2 separate regions of the Homo sapiens genome follow, and region 2 is linked to region 1. The links are contacts of gene promoters, found by promoter capture Hi-C in human tissues and cell types (Jung and others, 2019). All regions are on one chromosome and are shown on one strand. Each heading gives the region's core, a stretch centred on a gene start or on the middle of the fragment in contact. The rest is flanking DNA. Distances are from core to core; before and after follow the strand shown. Region 1 holds the start of VPS4B (vacuolar protein sorting 4 homolog B). Region 2 overlaps PHLPP1 (PH domain and leucine rich repeat protein phosphatase 1).

What was found. The method cuts DNA at HindIII sites, captures the fragments that hold promoters and counts their contacts. A contact is called where the count stands out against the background at its distance.
Region 2: a contact is called between a fragment that was not itself captured here and the fragment with the promoter of VPS4B in region 1, in 1 of the 25 tissues and cell types used here (dorsolateral prefrontal cortex).

Annotation. Positions count from the first base shown.
Region 1 is chr18:63,418,949-63,425,681 of GRCh38, forward strand. It overlaps VPS4B (vacuolar protein sorting 4 homolog B), which reads right to left and starts at 3,528. Exons shown (of 11, transcript NM_004869.4): 1 at 3,285-3,528. The coding sequence starts at 3,311. RefSeq lists an enhancer at 3,396-3,695. The HindIII fragment of the contact is 11,812 bases long and covers 1-6,733 here.
Region 2 is chr18:62,849,919-62,856,651 of GRCh38, forward strand. The region is part of intron 3 of PHLPP1 (PH domain and leucine rich repeat protein phosphatase 1); the gene reads left to right. Among named protein-coding and RNA genes, the nearest start is that of PHLPP1, 140 kb to the left of the region's middle. The HindIII fragment of the contact is 4,110 bases long and covers 1,585-5,694 here.

The DNA of each region.
Region 1 (6,733 bases), core at 2,278-4,777:
GTCTCCACAAGCATCTCAAACTCGACAAGTTTAGAACCAAATTATTTTGCTCCCTTGCCCTGGCCCCAAATAGCTCTCCTTTTGTATTCCCAGAACCAATCCCTACCTGAGTTGGGTACTCAGATACCCAACCCAGAAATCTGGGAGAAAACTCAGACTCTTCCTCCTCCCTCACTTTTAAAATGCAGATACAGCAGGGAGCAGTGGCTCACGCCTGTAATTCTACCACTTTGGGAGGCCAACGGGGGTGGATCACCTGAGTTCAGGACTTTGAGACTGGCCTGGCCAACACAGCGAATCCCCGTCTCTACAAAAATTAGCTGGGTGTGTTGGTGCATGCCTGTAATCCCAGCTGCTACATGGGGGGCTGATGCAGGGGAATCGCTTGAACCTGGGAGATGGAGGTTACCATAAGCCGAGATCATGCCACTGCACTCCTGCCTGGGCAATAGAGTGAGACTCTGTCTCAAAAAAAAAAAAATAAATGCAGATACAAGCTTGACTCTTCTCCATCTTCAATTTTTCTCCTTTGATCAATCCTTTCCACTTCATTTGAATGGATACTCTACTAATTTGGCCCCTTACCGCCTCCCATCCCACAGACCTTGCCTCCTTGCCCAGTACATTTTATTACAATATACTGTAATAAAAGTGATGTGAATGTGGTTTCTCTCTCTCAACATCTTATTGCACTGTTCTCAACCTTCTTGTGATTATGTGAAATAATAAAATGCCTACGTCATGATATGAACTGAAGTGAATGACACAGGCATTGTGACATAGTGTTTCAAAATTATGAACTATTTATTCTAGAATATTTCATTTAAAATTTTTGGACCCAGGTTAACTTCGGGTTATTGAAACTGTGGAAAGTAAAACCACAGGGAAGTGGAGAATACTGTGCAGCTTTATTACATTATATAATTTTGATTTTTAGTTATCTGCATTCCCTCATTAGATTATAAGCATCTGGCCACAGAGATTTTTGCCTTGTTCAGCAGGAAGTTAATCACTACATGAATATTAATCCAAATTTCCTAGGTTAGAAGGTTGAAAAGGTTGAATGAGAAAGCACACATGTGAACCTACCACTAACAAAATTACAATTCAAGATCCTTCCTGCTTAAGAGTAACAATTATGCCTTTCATGTTGGTCAGTCTCTGGCTGATTCACTGAAGAACAGCCAACAGTCCAATTCAAGTATGATGCATTCTGGGGCCGGGCACGGTGGCTCACACCTGTAACCCAGCACTTTGGGAGGCTAAGGCGGGCGGATCACTTGAGGTCAGGAGTTCAAGACCAGCGTGGCCAACATGGTGAAACCCTGTCTCTACTAAAAATAGAAAAAATTAGCCAGGCGTGGTGGCAGGCACCTGTAATCCCAGCTACTCGGGAGGCTGAGGCACAAGAATCACTTGAACCTGGGAGGTGGAGGTTGCAGTGCGCCAAGATCACGCCACTGCACTCCAGTCTGGGCAACAGAGCAAGACTGTCTCAAAACAACAACAACAAAAACCTGCAAATGATGAAGATTATGTTGTAGAGTATCGAAATCACATGCAAAGTCTCTGACAAATGAAAAGCTGGTGGAATAAAAATTGTTAAAAAGCCAACGATGACAAGATGGGCACTTCAGAAGAGTCACCTTTAATACTCAAGGGAAAAATACTTTTACCAAATGACCAACGCTTTTTCCAAATACGTTTACCAAAAAGAACCTTTCCAAATAGGACTACAAAAAGCTACAAAAAACTCAAGTGAAGATTGCTGAATCTTAGTTTAATACAACCTTGGTGAAAAAGATAGTCATCCGGGCACGGTGACTCACGCCTGTAATCCCAGCACTTTGGGAGGCTGAGGTAGGCGGATCACCTGAGGTCAAGAGGCCAGCCTGGGCCAACATGGTGAAACCTCATCTCTACTACTAAAAATACAAAAATTAGCTGGGCGTGGTGGTGGGTGCCTGTAGTCCCAGGTACTCAGGAGGCTGAGGCAAGAGAATCGCTTGAACCTGGGAGGTGGAGGTTGTAGTGAGCTGAAATCACGCCACTGCACTCAAGCCTGGGCGACCGTGCAAGACTCCGTCTCAAAAAAAAAAAAAAAAAGAAAGAAAAGAAAAGGAAAAAAACACAGACAAATCAACACTTGACTTATTCCACAAAATGAGTCATTGTTGCAATTATACAATTATAATATTTTGTGAAAGATAACAATTATTTTAATAATCTTCTAGGTCGATTTTCAAGATGAAAGTCCCAAGCAAGCCTCCTTTCCCACTCTTTTTGTGTATGTGTGTGTGAAATTTTAATCTCTGTTTAAGTGGGTCTACTTTGAGTGGTCTTTCTTCAGAATCAATTATCATGGGTTAAGGAGTTCTTCCATTACCTTTGATGCCTCTGTCAGGCACTCCAATAACTGCTTGTTCAACAAACTACCGGAAGTCCACGACGGGGACTCAATACAAGTATTTTAGGCTACTCTTTTGTGCCTTATTGACTTACTGGACTGGGAGTCCTCTACATTAAGCCACATTACATTCTAAACGCCACTGAAGCCCTAGATCCATTCTGGGGATGGGAGACACCATTACATTAAGAAATTTCTTTTCTGAACGAATTCCATTCCACAGAGGACTAACGATTAAGCCTAAAATCTTAAGATTCCATGATTTGTGTACAAAACACTGTGCTCATTGCGGTAGAGGAGGGGAAGTGGAGCCACACAGAGGTTTAAGAATACTCCTCGATCTTACACACTACCATCTGGGAGCCACAGGAGTGTGCACATAAATTCAATGACTTCACGGAGATTGCATGCAGGCTGGCTGTAATCTCAGATTCTTGGTCTGTTCCCATATCTCTACTCACCTGACAGCTCAGAATGAAGGGGTCTGCTGTCAGCTTGAGAAACTAAGACCGAACTATGACCACCCTATCTTCAACTGGTCCAGAATAGGGCTTTGCAAAAATTACGTTCTTTCTTTCTCCGTTAACCCTGATTGGAGAAACCTGCCCAGATCTTGGCTGGTTTGGAAGCGGGAAGTGTCAACAAAAGTGAAGAGTCTCACAAAGCCAGTAGCTCGGGAGACCCCAAGAGCGGGCCAGAAACGACCTTTCCGTTGGAAAACGGGCCCCTCTCCCACCTGCTGCAGGTCCCCGGACCCGCCCTCCTGCGCCTCGACCACAGGCGCGGCCGCTTCCTCCCTTCTCCCCGCCCCCCACCCGCTTCTCGCGCCTCCCCTCGATCCCAGCTCCCTAGGGGGACGGGAGATGAGCAATGATACCTGGAGGTTGGGCGAAGTGGATGACATGGCGGAGTTCCCAGGCGGTTCCCAAGGGAACGAGGGGCGAGGAGAGCCAACAGCAGCAACGTCGAAGCGCGCACGGGGTAACAGCCCTCAAACTGGGGAGGCCGGTGGTTCTCGGACCGCGAAGGGCAGCCTCCCTTCCGGAACTTGTTTTAGACAACACTCTCTCCACCAGAGCTCCGACCCTCCCCACCAAACTTCCGCAATCCCGAGGCCCTCTAGGTTCTGGTCCCGCCTCTGCTCCGGGCACTTCCGATTTCGTCATCAGCACGCGCACCCAGTCACCAGACTCCCTTCTCTAGCCACAGCGCAGGCCCTCCCTGGGCCGGGAGAAGTAGCCTGGAAGCCAATCGAGCCCTGGCGGAAGTCGGGCTCGGCGCAGGCGCACTGAGACTCTGGCCTAGGCGCGGGCGGCAGCCTGGCAGACCTAGGAGAGCGCAAGCGCGGAAGCACAGAGCCGGGTTTTGTTGTTTGTTTGTTCCCCACCCCCGGGGACGTCTTTTACTTTGAGATGAATTATTGGCCCCGGCTCCCTTCCCTCCTCATCCACATGCTTTGTTGCCTCGTAGCTTTTGAGTGAAAAAGTCGTCCATTTCCAAGACCCGCCGACTGGGGGCTTTGGGCCTGTGACTGCGCCTTCACTCCGTGTCCTCTGTGGAATGGGGGCGATCACCGTCCTCGTCTCGGTGGTGAATAATTCAGGAGGGAGTGCGCGGTGAGGCGGCCGCACAGCGGTGCGCTAGCAGTCAGGCCGCGGGCGGGTCGGCGCTCGTTCCCGCTTGTTCTTCCCACGCCACTCGGCATCTTCCAAATGACTGTTGTGTTGGGAAGATGAATGTAAATAAGGCGTGGACGGCCGCTGTCCTCGAGTATGTGGTCTGAGAGGGAAGCACTTGTCCTGTAAAATGGGCATATCAGATATTATTTATGCCAGTTATGTTTACAAGCAAATGGCTTGAGGAGGTTGAATGCGTCAGGGATTAGAGGCAGAACCAAAGTAAAACCCTTTCTCAGCCTTCCTATGGTTTGCAGCCACCACCACCCTTTTCTTCTTTTCATAGTTAACATTCTCAAAGGAAAGCAACATAGATGTTTAATCACTCCATCATTTTTTTCTCACTCATTTCTTAATTTTTTCTCATCTGGCATCTCCGAAAGAATTAAAGTCCTCTCCTCTTCCCTCTTCATTGGTATTGTCAACTACCCAGTTCTTGTTTGTCCAGCTTCCCAATATTCCTTATCTGCTTCCTTCACTGTCTCCCTTTCTTACTCCTCCCTGAGCTTAAGCTGAATTTACTCAAGAGTCTGATGTCCTCTTCTCTCTTCACCTCTGCTCATCTAACTCTCTTCTTGAGCTTCAGCTATCAATAGACTAGAAATTGCTTCAAATCTGGATCTCTAGACCCACCCCATCCCCAGCCCAGCATTTACAACAGCCTCCCAGAGGTTTCCTTCACAGGGTTTTTCTGCAAGACAAATTCAACATACTCTAATTAATTACCTTCTACCCTAAACTTCTTTCTCTGGTCTCTCCTTAGAATAGTATTGCCAAATCTGTATCATCCAGGCTCGAAGCACAGAGCCCTCTCTCTGCCCTGCATCTACCCGTCCTTTCTTCCCACTTGTGAATTTGCCTTCGCAAAATGATGACTGAGACAGTGAAAGAGATCTAACTTAACCAACTCCATCTTACTTTTAACCTCCAAGCTGTCCTTGTACATTCCTGAGCATAGGCTGAACTAACTGTGGGAGAAACTGAGTTTATAATTTAAGCAAAGATGGGCCGGGCGTGGTGACTCACGCCTGTAATCCCAGCACTTTGGGAGGCCGAGGTGGGTGGATCACTTGAGGTCAGGAGTTCGAGACCAGCCTGGCCAACATGGTGAAACTCCATCTCTACTAAAAATACAAAAATTAGGCCGGGTGTGGTGAGTCACGCCTGTAATCCCAGCACTTTGGGAGGCCAAGGCGGGCGATCACCTGAGGTCAGCAGTTCAAGACCCGCCTGGCCAACATGGTGAAACCCTGTCTCTACTAAAAATACAAAAATTAGCTGGGCATGGTGGTGCGTTCCTGTAATCCCAGCTACTCGGGAGGCTGAGGCAGGAGAATTTCTTGAACCGGGACCTAGGAGGCAGAGGTTGTGGTGAGCTGAGATCGCACCACAGCACTCCAGCCTGGGCTACAGAGCGAAACTCTGTCTCAAAACAAACAAACAAAAATTAGCCAGGCGTGATGGTGCCTGCATGTAACTCCAGCTACTTGGGAGGGTGAAGCAGGAGAATCACTAGAACCCAGGAGGCAGAGATTGCAGTGAGCCAAGATCACACCACCGCACTTCAGCCTGGGCAACAGAGTGAGAATCGGTAAAAACAAACAAACAAACAAAAAACCCCTCTTTTATCACCAGTAATAAGCCATGTTGTTATGATGGAACCCCTGATGTGGAGAAGGGCACATTAGCTCTGTGGTATGCTTCCCAAACCTGTAACCTCAATCTAATCATGAGAAAACATCAGAAAAATTCATATGGAGGGTTTTTCTACTTCTACAAAATAACCAGTGCTCCTCAAAAATGTCAAGATCATAAAAGACAAGGAAAGACTGAGGAACTGTCACAGATTGTAGAGACTAAGAAGATGACAACTAAATGCAGTATGGGATTCTGGATTGGATCCTGAAACAGAAAAGGGCCATGAGTTGAAAAACTGTTGTAAGAATGAGAATAAAGTCTGCAGTTTAGCTAATAGTATTTTATCAATGTTAATTTCTTATTGTTGATAAATGTACCATGGTTATTTAAGATGTTAACAGTAGGGGAAATTGGGTGAAGAATATATGGGAATTCTCTGTATACCTTTGCAACTATTCTGTAAGAGTTTATTTTTAATTTTTATTTGTGTATTTATTTTTATTTTTTTTGAGACAAAGTCTCGCTCTGTCACCCAGGCTGGAGAGCAGTGGCACAATCTCGGCTCACTGCATCCTCCACCTCCCATAACAATTCTCCTGCCTCAGCCTCCCGAGTAGCTAGGATGACAGGCGTGTGCCACCATGCTTGGCAAATTTTTTGTGTTTTTGTAGAGATGGGGTTTTGCCATTTTGTCCAGGCTGGTCTCGAACTCCTGTCCTCAAGTGATCTGCCTGCCTCAGCCACCCGATGTGCTGGGATTACAGGCGGGAACCACCACACCCAGCCTGTAAGTATTATTTTAAAAGGAAAATTTTTCATTTTAAAATTCCTATTCCCTGGGACCTTACATTTTAGTGGAGTAGAAACTTTTAACCGTTTACATATTTAAAATGTAAATATGTTACATGTGTAAGAGTTTTGCATACATTATCTTATTGTATACGACAAGGTAAATCTTAAGTATCCCATTTTTACAAAAGAGGAAACAGGCCAGGCGCGGTGGCTCACACCT
Region 2 (6,733 bases), core at 2,390-4,889, 570 kb before region 1:
TCTACGCCTACTCCGAAGGGTTAAATTCTTCTACCCACTGGTCTAATTTATTATTTTATAAAGTAGGAAGTAGTGGAGCAATTGAAAAAACAATCTATAAACTCTGTATTAAACATACTGAACCTTGTATATTAGACTTGGAAATTAAACATCAATTTTTTTTTTTTTTTTGTATTTAGAAACAAAACAGGCCGGGTGTGGTGGCTCACGCCTGTAATCCCAGCACTTTGGGAGGCCGAGGCAGGTGGATCACAAGGTCAGGAGTTTGAGACCAGCCTGGCCAACATGGTGAAACCCTGTCTCTACTAAAAATACAAAAATTAGCTGGGTGTGGTGGCAGGCACCTGTAATCCCAGCTACTCAGGAGGCTGAGGCAGGAGAATTGCTTGAACTCGGAAGGTGGAGGTTGCAGTGAGCTGAGATTGAGCTACTGCAATCCCGGATGGTGATGGAGCAAGACTCCATCTCGGGGGGGCGGGGGGGAAAACAAGTAGTTCATTTCTAGTAGTAGAACCACTTGAATAGTATTTGTATTATGTATTTTAATAGAAAGCTAGAGTGTAAGTTTTTTTGTGGTTCATTTCTCCTTTGTCAAGGCGATGACACCTTTGGGGGAATGCTGCCATGACGTTCAGAAACATTCTCAGGTAGTAACATTTTAAAGAGATTGTTTATACATATTTTGCCAATAAGGAACTGAGGAAGGAACTCTGAGTTCAGATTTGATCTCCACCCAAGTTGAACTCTATTTTTTTGTTGTTACTGAGAAACACAATGGGGTTTGTGTGTGTGGAAGGGAGATAACTGTTAGAGTGACACTGGTGGCTCATGATTTTGGAAAGCTGTTAGTGACATCTCCTCTGACCCTATACTGTTGCATCTGACTCCTAAAGAGTCCACATTTTCACTTTTGGCCGCATGATGAGCTCACTGGACAAATGCAGCAGAAGTGCCTGTGAATACGTGGCTCATTTTGTCAAGGGAGGGGACTGTGTCGGCACTGATGCTGTCGACGTGGAGCTCTGAGGATTGTTCTTGGCCCTGTGTGTGCTCTTATGGCACTGCTGCATCCTCTTTAGTGAATTACAGTTATTTAGATGTGTGTGTCCTCAAGAGGCTAAGCTTTTGGAGACAAAGACTGCATCTCTCCAGTACCTGGTATAGTTCCTGGTTCATAAAAGGCAAATAACAAATGTTTATTGAATGATTCATTCAGGTTAGCTTGATGGCCCCGCGCATGCTGCCTCCTCATCCCCATCCCCTCACCTCTGCTGGCAAAGAGAGCTGAGGATACCTTGGAGGATCTCTTGGTCTGGAGTTCTCTTGATTGGCTTTTTAAATATTGTTATAGCTTGGTCCTTGAACAGTGAGCCAGGGATTTTGTTTTGTTTTGTTTTCTTCCCCAGCCTGCAGTTGTTTCCATACTCTTATTTTTGGGTCTTTTAACTATATTTTAACAGGTACCTCATAGCCTATCATTTTAAAATCATAGATCCTACCTCTCCCACATGCTCTTGCCCTCAACAGAATACCATCTCTCATATTTATTTATTTATTTTTGAGATGGAGTCTTGCTCTGTCGCCTAGGCTGGAGTGCAGTGGTGCGATCTTGGCTCACTGCAACCTCCGCCTCCCGGATTCAAGAGATTCTCTTGCCTCAGTCTCCTGAGTAGCTGGGATTACAGGTGTGCGCCACCACACCCGGCTAATATTTGTATTTCTAGTGGAGACAGGGTTTCATTATGTTGGTCAGACTGGTCTCAAACTCCTGACCTCATGATCTGCCTGCCTCGGCCTCCCAAAGTGCTAGGATTACAGGCGTGAGCCACTGTGCCCAGCCCATCTCTCATTTTTAACCTATTGATGATAGCCTGTCTGGATTTTCCTGTTGTATTCATTGATTTGCTATGTCATTACCTCGAATCATTTTAAATGTTGTATAATTTGCGTAATCTTTTTTCTTTTCTTTTTTTTTTGAGACAAGATCTCCCTCTGTCACCCATGCTGGAGGGCAGTGGCACAATCATAGTTCACTGCAGCCTCAAGCTTCTGGGCTCAAGGATTCCTCCCACCTCAGCCTCCCATGTAGCTAGGACTATAGGCACGTGCCACCACACCTGGCCAATTTTTTAATTTAATTTTGTAGAGATGGGGTCTTGCTGTGTTGTCTGGGCTGGCCTCAATCTCCTGGACTCAAGTGGTCCTCCCGCCTCAGCCTCCCAAAGTGTAGAAATTACAGGCATGAGTCACTGTGCCTGGCCCTTATTTTATTGCTTATATATCTTTTTCCATCTCATTTAACCATTTAAGAAAAAGAAATGGTGAGATTCTGAAATTCCAGGTAGAATTTCATAAGTATAAAACTGGTAGCTTTGATATGCTTTTATTGGAACATTATGAAGATATATGATGTAATTAATTTTTATTTATTTATTTATTTTTTGAGATGGAGTCTCACTGTGTCACCCTGGCTGGAGTGCAGTGGCCCAATCTCGGCTCACTGCGAGCTCCGCCTCCTGGGTTCATGCCATTCTCCTGCCTCAGCCTCCCGAGTAGCTGGGACTACAGGCGCCTGCCGCCACGCCCGGCTAATTTTTTGTATTTTTAGTAGAGACGGGGTTTCACTGTGTTAGCCAGGATGGTCTCGATCTCCTGACATCATGATCCGCCCGCCTCGGCCTTCCAAAGTGCTGGGATTACAGGCGTGAGCCACCATGCCCGGCAGGTTGACAGCAGTGTTTCACTTCACACAAGCAGAATTATTTGTGGTATTTCAGCTGCTTTGACCAAGCCTTTTAGAGTCATTCTGGTTAATTTTGAGCATGCCATGCACATAAGAAGGATAAATACAACTTTACTAAAGTATAGAGGGGGCAAAATCATCACATTAATGTTACTGTGAACTTTCCCTTGCCTGTGAAAGACGATTATCCACTAACTGAACCAAGAAGAGTAATGGGAATGATGCAGAGTACTGTCCTCTTGCAAGGGAAGATGAGAATTTTGAAAGCGTGGCAGGGATAGGGTAAGGATAGGACAGATAGATTGGTTTACAAATGCAACCCAGCTACACTCAGAGGAGGGACGTTTTTGTCATAAGGGTCCTAATAATAGGCAAAGAAATGACTTAGGAAAGTGTCAAGCTGAGTTATATGTTAGAAATGTGTGGCCACCCATTGAGTCATCTGAAAATTTTGTTGTTCACATTAGCATTTTTTATAGTGCAGTGTTCTTTAGAGGAAATATTTTGAGGACCAAATGAACCCTCCTTCCCTTATGTATATTTACAAGTCATTTGGGAAAAAAAGAGACCACCTGAGCAGGTAGTTGGAAATTATGTTCATTTTGATGTATCTCTCAGGGTGTGTCCATCGTGGTAGAAAAGTCCCATTTAATTTACTAACTCAATTAGCCTTAATTTTTTTTCTTTTTTCTTTTTTTTTTTTGTTCTTGTTTCGTTTTGTTTTTGAGATGGAGTCTTGCTGTTGTTGCCCAGGCTGGAGTGCAGTGGCGCAATCTTGGCTCCCTGCAACCTCTGCCTCTCGGGTTCAAGCGATTCTCCTACCTCAGCCTCCTGAGTAGCTGGGATTACAGGTGCCCGCCACCCCACCCAGCTAATTTTTGTATTTTCAGTAGAGATGGAGTTTCCCCATGTTGGCCAGGCTGGTCTCGAACTCCTGACCTCAGGTGATCTGCCCCCCTCGGCCCCACAAAGTGCTGGGATTACAGGCGTGAGCCTCTGCCCCCAGCCTGTTATTGTTAATACAGACTAAAACTGACTTTCTATGGCACAGTTACCTTCAACTGATCACAACTTGAATCTCTTCGTCTATAGTTCATTGATGGTCTGGCTAATTGCAGTTTATCCTTATAACTGCTCAACGACGAGAGCATTGGCTTACATCGTAGTCTTTTTTGTTTTATAGACTTTTATTGCTTGGAGTGGTAGACATTGCTGTGGAGATACTTGGTCTACAGAGCCTCTCCTGATTTTTTAAAATGAATAAAATGGTATTACTGCAGCAACTTGTTAAGGTGATCAGGGCAGGTCTATTAGTCTATAAGACAGGACTTAGTCTATTTTAGAGATACGGAAACTTGAAGGACAGGTAAGCGAAGTGACTTATTCAAAGTCACGTTGCTAGTAAGTAGAACTGTTCCTACCTACCCCACATACTGTTAAGCTGGTGCCCTTTCTCCTGTATGTCAAGTTGTGTGGACCTCACCTTTGTGCCTTCAACTATCTTGTCTGTGGTTATAAGTACAGTAGCTTTTGCCAAAAGGAATTTATATTCTGAGATCCTTTAGAAGCTTTCTGTAACAGAGATTTGAGGCACTTTCTATATATGCCTGTTTCACTTCCCAAATATCTATAACCTCTTATACTTTTCCTGTAACCTTTAAAATTTTGATTAGGTGCTCACTGGATGGCATCACTGTTGCCCAGCTGGATAAGTTGTGTGGGATTGGAGTGGGCAGAGCCTATGATGTCAAGGAATAATGCCCCATGGGGATTCACCCCTCCTCGGAAATCTGTATTTGGTCAGCAGATGGTCTCTACTGCTTCTCCCGAGGAGGACTCACTGTCTCTGACCACCTTGTCTTCATTTCTAAGGCTTAAACATATCCTGAGGAGTACATCTAATTTTCTTTGCTGTAGTTATGTTATTTTATGATGGAGATTAGAGGAGCCTCCCTTCTGATGAGATCCAGGTCTTGACCTGATGGCATAGAGTTAATAGTACTGGCTCTTGTTCAAACTCTGATCCTGCTACTTTTTTTTTTTTTTTTTTTTGAGATGAAGTTTCGCTCTTGTCACCCAGGGTGGAGTGTGATGGCTCAATCTTGGTTCACTGCAATCTCCGCCTCCCAGGTTCAAGTGATTCTCCTGCCTCAGCCTCCTGAGTAACTGGAATTACAGGCACCCACCACCACGCCTGGTTAATTTTTGTATTTTTAGTAGAGAAGGGGTTTCACCATGTTGGCCAGGCTGGTCTCAAACTCCTGACCTCAAATGATCCACCCACCTCGGCCTCCCATAGTGTTGGGATTACAGGCATGAGCCCCTACACCCAGCCTGATCCTGCTGCTTTTTAAACTAAATGGCCTTGGGCGCACACTCTGTGACTCAGTTTAATCTTTATCTTTGAAACAGGGGTAAGTTCTTACTGCACAGGGTATTGGGAAGATTAAGCTAAATATTGTATCTTAAGCTCTTGGAAGAGTGCCTATCACAAAGAAGGCACTACTTAAATGTTAACTATTATTATTGTTACTTGGAAAAGGAAAACGCTAGAATAATAAAGCCTACTTGCTCTGAGGTGTGCACATGTGGTTTTTTGATTAATTTTTTTTATGTATGTAGGTCTTTCTTATTTCAGGCAGGATCTCAGTTTTAATAGCTGCTGTGTAGGTGGGTCACAGTTTCTTTGGATAGCCCAGCTGGTAGTTTTCTCATTTGGGAATCAAGCCATACCTTCTAAGTAGAGTGCTTTCCTGGTTCTTAACTCTTTGTGATAGAGCCCTGATGTGCCCAGGTTGCTCTGAGTAGAAGCACTTAAATCTCCCATTCTGTTGCAGCTTATGGGACTGGGCAGTGGTGTAGCTAGTGGTAGCTTTTGTGGTCACCTATGCAGCTCACTGCCTAGTGGCCATATTAACATGTTGAATTTATGTTCTCACGATAGACATTCCTAGTTCTACATAGCTCACACAGGACTGCCCTTGCTTGTAGCCTCGTTAATGTGGTTTCCTCCTCCTTGTTTCCAGCAGAAACAGCTTACGGTCTAGAAGGAGGAAAGGAAGCCAATACAACTTGATGTTAAATCATTTTCTCTTAGTTGTCCAAAGGGAGTATTTAGTGGGATGCTTCATTTGAAATGGAATTTGTCTTCTTCAAAGTGGTTGCCAAATGAAAGGATGCACTAGATGCAGAGGCCGCCTGGTGAGAAAGGAGGAGGTATAAGGTCGTCTTCTGGCCATTCTTCCAGCAAGATGTTTTGAGGGTCCTCCCAAGTACTCAACGTGGGGTTATATCAGTGAACAAAATAGAAAAATCCTTTCCTTTATGGAGCTTACAATCTAGAGACAAAGATAGAGAAAAAATAAGAAAATTCCATGGTACAGTAGGCCCTTCTTACTGCGAGTTTCCCATTTTCAGATTCAACTAACCGGGGATCAAAACCTGCCAACACGGAGGGCTGAGTGTACTATGGCATTTTATGTCAGGGACTTGAGCATCCGTGGATTTTGATACCTGCTGGGGTCCAGGAGCTAATCCCCAGTGGATATGGAGCGCCGACCATATGTTGGTGATCACCTCACACTTCTCAGAACCTTTCCACACATCCCATTTCACTCACCTTAAAAGCCAGAGTCCTTACAAGGCCTGAGGGTCCCACAGGATCTGCTGCTTACCCCATATCCCCTGCCCCCTTACCTTCTGACCTCATTGCCAGTCACTGTCTCCTTATTATCAGTGTTCTCAAGTCCCTCGGACATGCCAAGTGTGCTCCTTTTACAAATTTGAGACAGGGTCTGGCTGTATTGCCCAGGCTGGAGTGCAGTGGTGTGATCAAAGCTCACTGCAACCTCGACCTTCTGGGCTCAAGTGGTCCGTCCACCTCAGCCTCCCGAGTAGCTGGAACTATAGGCACGCACCACCACGCCCAGCTAATTAAAAAATTTTTTTATTAGTAGAGTTGGTGGTCTCACTATGTTGCCCAGGCTGATC